2 separate regions of the Homo sapiens genome follow, and region 2 is linked to region 1. The links are contacts of gene promoters, found by promoter capture Hi-C in human tissues and cell types (Jung and others, 2019). All regions are on one chromosome and are shown on one strand. Each heading gives the region's core, a stretch centred on a gene start or on the middle of the fragment in contact. The rest is flanking DNA. Distances are from core to core; before and after follow the strand shown.

What was found. The method cuts DNA at HindIII sites, captures the fragments that hold promoters and counts their contacts. A contact is called where the count stands out against the background at its distance.
Region 2: a contact is called between the fragment with the promoter of KRT83 here and the fragment with the promoter of KRT71 in region 1, in 2 of the 25 tissues and cell types used here (adrenal gland and heart left ventricle).

Annotation. Positions count from the first base shown.
Region 1 is chr12:52,550,927-52,554,395 of GRCh38, reverse strand. It overlaps KRT71 (keratin 71), which reads left to right and starts at 1,251. Exons shown (of 9, transcript NM_033448.3): 1 at 1,251-1,759. The coding sequence starts at 1,319. The HindIII fragment of the contact is 12,426 bases long and covers 1-3,469 here.
Region 2 is chr12:52,319,866-52,323,706 of GRCh38, reverse strand. KRT83 (keratin 83) reads left to right here and starts at 2,309. Exons shown (of 9, transcript NM_002282.3): 1 at 2,309-2,755. The coding sequence starts at 2,372. The HindIII fragment of the contact is 13,306 bases long and covers 229-3,841 here.

The DNA.
Region 1 (3,469 bases), core at 2-2,501:
AGCAAAGAGCTGCTGTTCACCCATGGGGCTCCAGCAGGGATCTCTGGGCAAGGGTGATCTTCAGGGACAGAGCTGCCTTGGGTTGAATAGGGCCACAGTGGCAATGGCGATCATGGGAGTAGCTGGGGCCCAACACAGGAGCCAGTGGCTAGGAAGCAGGGGCTGCAGCCAGAGTCTCTGGGGCTGGCATCAAAGGACTGTTTGGAGTAGAATGACATCGTGCTTACTGGGTCGCCCCCATTGGGTCTTTCTGGTCTGAGCCTGCCTGGAGGCTTGCACTCCTGGGGAGGGCTCAGCCAGCCTTGTTCTTGGCTCACTTGGGCCTGGACAGAGGCAATAGGAGTTAAGTTTCATGTTGATAACAGCTTCTTTATTTGAACTCTAAACAGATGATTACTGTCCTCAAGTTGTTCCTAGTCTTATTAGCAGATACACATTGGAGGAGAGACAGAAATGAGGAAGTGGACCACCCAGGAATCTCCATAACCCTCCAGGCCATGGGCCAGCCTCTGTCTTTGTCTTCTCTGTACCTCCTTCCAGTCAAGTCCCTGAATTTCTCAGCCACCTGCCCCAACTCCATCCTCCTTTTCTCGTCCTCATTTTCTCCAGTGTTTGAAGCCTCCAGCCTGCTTTATTATGGGTGTTTGAGGGGGGAGAAGTGAGGATAGTGCCCGTGGTTGGCTCTGGCCTGGGCTGCTTCTGTCCCATGCTAGCGAGAGGGTCACTCCACCTCCTAATACCCCATGAGTGAGAGCAGCTGCCCTCTATGGGTTATGTTTCCAGGAGGCCTGGGGAGAGGTAATGCCTGATCAGTCCCTTTCCAGGAAGGAGGAGAACAGAAGTTGGAGGCCCCAGTACTCTACCCAGTGTCCTGAACTATCCAGGAAAGTCCATCCTGTCTTCACCTGCTGCATCCCCAGGAGGAAGCCAACAACCCAGAGAAGATTAATCAGGATAGGGATGGTGCAGTGCCAGTGACATCCCCCTGGAGAGGCCAGGGCCTGGGGCAAATTACCCTATAACAGCAGGTTAATTAGATAAGACCCAAATTACATGAGCAAAGCTTGCAAGCCCAGCAATTTGAAGGTTTCATGTTGTTTCAGAGGTGGAGAGGGCTTGATCTCTAGCTCAGCATAGAGAAAATGACTTCTTGCTCCCAGGCAAGCCAAACCCACGAATTAAGCTCTTGACTGCCCATCCACAAGCCCCAGTGCCAAGCACATATAAAGGCACCTGCCAGTCCTCACTACAACCAGCAGAACCTTTTGGGATTTTGCCTTCCTCCCTCCTGCATCTGAGCTTTGTCTCCACCAGCAACATGAGCCGCCAATTCACCTGCAAGTCGGGAGCTGCCGCCAAGGGGGGCTTCAGTGGCTGCTCAGCTGTGCTCTCAGGGGGCAGCTCATCCTCCTTCCGGGCAGGGAGCAAAGGGCTCAGTGGGGGCTTTGGCAGCCGGAGCCTCTACAGCCTGGGGGGTGTCCGGAGCCTCAATGTGGCCAGTGGCAGCGGGAAGAGTGGAGGCTATGGATTTGGCCGGGGCCGGGCCAGTGGCTTTGCTGGAAGCATGTTTGGCAGTGTGGCCCTGGGGCCTGTGTGCCCAACTGTATGCCCACCTGGAGGCATCCACCAGGTTACCGTCAATGAGAGCCTCCTGGCCCCCCTCAACGTGGAGCTGGACCCCGAGATCCAGAAAGTGCGTGCCCAGGAGCGAGAGCAGATCAAGGCTCTGAACAACAAGTTCGCCTCCTTCATCGACAAGGTGGGTCTTCTAGGGCCTGGGGAACTTGTGAACAGCCCTCCTCTTCTCTTCTTGGAACATACGATTTTGTTACAGCAGGAGAGATTGAGGTTAGATGTGAGGAAGACTTTACTGTGGACAAGGTAGGTACATCCCATCAACAGGGTGACCTGTGTAAGGTTCTCTGTGTTGTCTTTCCAGAGAGAAAACAGAGGCAGGTCAATTTCTACTGGCAGAGGCTTCTCAGGGCTCCCAGCAAGAGATGTGGTCCTTCCTCTTGAGGGCTAGCTTGGTGCCATTGCTAGGCCTGCAGGCCGTGTGCAGAAAAGGCCTGTGAGAGCCAGTCTCGCCCAGAGTAAGCAGGGAAGCTGTCCTCCTCCCCTGGCATGCTGCCCTGCCCACTGGTCACTTGCCCAGCGGATCAGGAGCAGCAGGAAGGGGCCGCTTCAGGCCCTCTGATTGGGCATTTGCTCCAGTCAGTTGAAGACTTTCTTGAGAGGCAGAAGAGGGCACTGGGGAAGGGGACTCCACGGTGCTCTTGTGCTCACTGCTGGCCACAGCTGAGTGGCTCTGGGAAGGTGATCTGCCTGTCTGTGTTGCCATCTCCTCATCTCTAAAATGGAGATAATAACTTCTGTCTTGGGGTTGTTGTCAGGCTTATAAAAGAAAATGCAGGTGAAGATCTTGTCACAAGCCTGACGCACACTAAATACTCCAAAAATGATTGTGATTGTGACTCTCATTTCTTATCTCTGGAATGTGGGGGAGGGAAGCTCAGGGGAGGAATCAAAGGTGTCTAGAGACCTGAAGAGATGACACAGTCCAGATAGGCCCCTGACTTCTGGCAGAGAAGAAATGATTATCCCTATCGTATGAGTCACTGAAGGCATGGAGGTAAATGGCATTCCCAGGGTCATTTGGGGAAAGGGAAGGGTGAGGCTGGACCCTCAGCCTTTTGCCTCCAGACCCAGAGGAGGAGACTGGAGGGTTCTGTTGGCTCTGTGGCAGTCAGGCACCAAGGACGGGTCAACCCAGGACAAAGTCTATGGGTGAGACGGTCATGTGGCCATCAGAGCTTAGCCAGCTCCTGCAGCTCAGACTTCCTGCCTGGAGGAGTCCCTGCTGCCCTCGGCTCAGCCTCAGGGGCTAGGACTGGCTCTGCGGCTTCTTATTCTTCTAAGCCTTTTCATATCTGCAAGATCAAAGTGTTCTGAGATGGGGTCTGGGTGATGGGAGTGGACTGATTGATTCTTGGCTCGGCTGGTCAAAACCTACAGAAGGATAAAGTCTGGAGACATGGGAAGAAAGATGAACATGAGGAGGGTCACATCCTGTTTATAAAGATGGTCTGCCCAGAGGGAGGGGAAGGAGGCTGAAAGGCTTGGACAGTTCCCAAATAATTTCAGTCTCCAGAGATCAGTCCCTTAACCTCAGGCAGCCAGAGAAGACGGGTAAATCCTTTCGGCATCCAGATGTGTTCAGTAGTGCAGGTGTGTATTGTGGTGTCTCAGATGCAGGATTTACTCTGTGGTTAATGCTCAGCCTCGTAGATCACATGAAAAATTCAGGATTGGTTAAACCAGACCAAATGCTGGAAGACGGGCTAGAGACAAATTTTCGGGGAATAATTCTATCTTGACACTGAATCTTAGATAGTTTTCCCATGTCTTGTGTTTCTGATGTTGGGGAAGACAACCTTATTCAAGCAGTAGCTGTGCTCATGTAGATTAA
Region 2 (3,841 bases), core at 1,060-3,559, 230 kb after region 1:
TCTTTTTATCTCCAGGGTCCATGCTATCTTCAGAGCCAATCAGGGCAGGGGTGGGCATGGTCATGGCTCCCCCATCCCAAGGAGGTCATGTGTCTACACAGAGCCCCTCGGTGGAGGGGTCCAACATGATCCAAGCCTGCTGGATTGAGACAGATGAGCCAGGTCAGAAGACAGCAGCGCAGTTTCCAGCATCGTGATGGAGAAATGCTTCACAGAGGGTTCACTGCCCTGCAGTCCTCAGCATTTCACCAAGAAACAGATCCCCCATAATCATTGGATATGTGTGGAGAGCATTCCAGGTGCTCACTGGTTCCAGTGTGGGTGGGTGAAGAGCCTGGTCTTTCTTGGCTGTCTAGCAGATGTTTGACCCAACCAAGACTGAACATGACAGCACCAGCCAGCCCAGCCTCCCTCAAAGATGCTCCCAAAATCCCACTAGCCACTCAGCTGCAGTCAGCCACCCCCAGGCCCCCCAGGTACCCTCAGGCTGTGCCTCCCTGGTGTGTCTTTCACACCAGGATCCCCTATCACACAGCCCACACCCCCAGAGTTCCTGCCCCAGACACAAGACTCTGGAAGCCTGTCCACAGGACCCAAGAAGAGAGGCTAGGAGAGTCCTTTTTTTGGATCCATGGCAGATGTCCAGCTCCCTAAGAGATTTCAACAGCACCATCGCCTGCCCTCCCTCAGGCCCACAGAAGATGGGCCCCTCTTCCATCATCCCCAGATCCCCACTCTGGGATATAACTGGCCCACTCATCCTGAGCGGGAGTGGGAAGGGCAAAAGATGAGAGTCACAGGAGGGTTACTATTAGCCCAGAGTGGGTCAGTGTTGGGTTGTGGCTGGGTCAGGACACAGGTCCATCAGTGGAGTCCTCCTCATCCTCTCCTGACGAAAGCAGTCCAGAGATGTGTGTTTGGAAGGGTTGATGGGCTCAGGTCCTCGGGTTAAGGCAAACCTCCTGGCTCGGTCCGACTGTCCATCCATCAAAGCCATTGCCTGTCCTAACCCAAAGGAACAAGGGCCCAAAGTAAGAGAGCTTGGCTTTAGGAACAGCCACATGAGCTAGCACCCTTCTCTCACCCAGTGTGTTCTCTGAGGTGAGAGAGTGATCTCATTTAAGGACCCTGCTGATGTCCCTCACCTCCCGCACCTTCCCTCCTTCCTGGTGAGTACATACACCCCAAGACCCCATCACTGAGCTTCCCTGCTGGGAACCTAAAGAACACCAATCAGCCTGGACATTGTGAGGGCCTTCCCCCCATCTGTGGCTTCTCATCTTTCCCCCTAGCCAAATGTTGGCTCCCCCACATGCATGCTACCTCCAAACACCCCAGGTCTCTGTAGGATTTCCAGAACCTAGCACAGTGGCTAGTGCATAGTTGGTGGGCACCAAATAAGTATTTCCTGAATAAATGAATAAATGAATAAATGAATAAATGAATACACATAGTCTAGTCTGCAAATCAGAGCCAGACTCTTTTCTGGTCATCTCTCAATCCTGTACTACCCCACCCCAATCCTCCTCAAGCCCAGGTCCCCACTCTCCTCCATGAGTCCCTGGAGCTCTGAGGTATTCCACACTCCCCGCTCCTGATCCCATCAGCAATGACACCTGGAACTCTGAAGCATAGCCCTGGCACTGTCCTGAACTCTCTGAATCAGTTTCTTCCATGTCCCAGATGGTGTCCCTGCACTAGGAATACCCAAAGTGCAAAGAACATGCCCTCCTCCCACCCCAAATCTCTACCCCCACTCCCATCCTTGACCAGGCTCTGAGCAGGAATAGGATAGGAGCGGCCAATCTTGACAATGAGGAAAGGAACCCGCCTTTGAGAAAAAGACAGGAAAGCCTACAGCAAGAGGTTGTCTCAGAGGCAGCCCCCTCCTTGGGACAGGCCAGCCACTCCACCCCAGGGCTTGGCCATGGGTCCAGGGCCCATAGCCTAGCTCTGCCCCTTTCAGAACAGGGTTCAGAGAGCAGGCTTTACCCCAGGTCACTGCACCCATTCCCCTCGCTTGGACCGCAGAATGCAACTAATGCTTTCAGGAACCCCTCTCCCCGCTCCACAGCAGTGCCAGTGGGAGGGGCAGGAGCAAGGAGGAAGCTTATAAAGGGCTTTGAAGATGAAACAGGGCCCGTGGCCAGGGATTGTTGATGCAGCCACACTGAAGAGGCAAGCAGGGTTCTAGCTTAAGAGGCCAGGGTGATGCCAAGCCAATAAAATTCAGCTATTGTCTCTTTGCTCCCTCTTTTAACACCAGCTGCCCCTGGCACATAAAAGGGCCTGCCATCAGCCAGGGAGCACAGGCCCTTGGTTCCATCCTCTGCCATCTACTCCACTGTTCAGACACCTCCTAACCTCCGTCATGACCTGTGGCTTCAACTCCATAGGCTGTGGGTTCCGCCCTGGAAACTTCAGCTGTGTCTCTGCCTGCGGGCCCCGGCCAAGCCGCTGCTGCATCACCGCCGCCCCCTACCGCGGCATCTCCTGCTACCGCGGCCTCACCGGGGGCTTTGGCAGCCACAGCGTGTGCGGGGGCTTCCGCGCCGGCTCCTGCGGACGCAGCTTCGGCTACCGCTCCGGGGGCGTGTGCGGACCCAGCCCCCCATGCATCACCACCGTGTCGGTCAACGAGAGCCTCCTCACGCCCCTCAACCTGGAGATAGACCCCAACGCGCAGTGCGTGAAGCAGGAGGAGAAGGAGCAGATCAAGTCCCTCAACAGCAGATTCGCGGCCTTCATCGACAAGGTGGGTGTCGTCCTGGATCACACCCTTCCTGAACCCCTACTCATGTTCAGAACTCAGGCTGGGCACTGACAGGGAAGTCAAAGGCAAGAACTTGCCCACAGAAGTTCCCAGGCCAAAGGGAAAGGTAGTCATACTTCTAGGACACAGACAGAAAGACAAAAATGGGACCGGGAGCTACCAGACTGATGGGGGAGATTAACTGAAAACACAAAAGCAGAACGAGGGGCAGAGCCTTCCACACTGAGTGATAATATCACCTAGTGAGCAAAGGACCACTGTGTGGGCGCTCAGGGCATTTGAAGCCAAATAACTGCTTAAATGCCAAGGAGATGCTGTCTCCATCAAGGCAGGGCTAATAAGTGTGGTGCTGGAAAACTGTCTGGAAGTGGGTCTCGTGGATGGCACAGAACTCTTTCTATACCACACAGTGATTTGGCCACTGAGCAGGGTCTAGAGTATTTTGTCCAAGCCACTGTTCCTGGGGCTCAGGATCCAGGGGTGAGCAAGAGTCATGGTCCCCATCCTCACAGGCTTTATGGGGAGGCAGGCAGTGCACAGTCTGGGTTTGGTTGAAACCATCTGTGTAGTCAGTGTCCAACTAGAGTTTGCAGCCACCTTCTCCACTGAATCCAGGCAACCACCATGTGGCAGTGATGTGAGAGACTGGGAGAAAAGGCTCTGACTAGGAACATGTTCTGGGGTTGGAAAGAGCCCTCCAGAGCCAAAACCTCAAGAGAGGAGTCACACTAGAGAGATGCCCACCAGAAAGGATCGGGAAAAAAAAATGTGGAATTTCTAATAGCATGAGAGACCAAGGATAGCATAAGATAGGACCTACCAAGGGTGTGGCCAAGTTATTAGACAAAAGAAGCTGAGTGGAGTAGTGGGCCAACCTCATCGCTGGGAGAGGGATGTTCCTATAATTGTCAAAGGGAGAGAAGACACCCCCTGCAGCGCAGAAGATCGGAGTTTGAGCTCTTCTCTGCCACTGTGAGCTCTCAGGCAGTCAGGGAACCTCCTTGGCCTCATCAGTAAAATAAGGGGGTTGGAGCACAGGACATTCCTACTCTCATATTGCAGGTGACT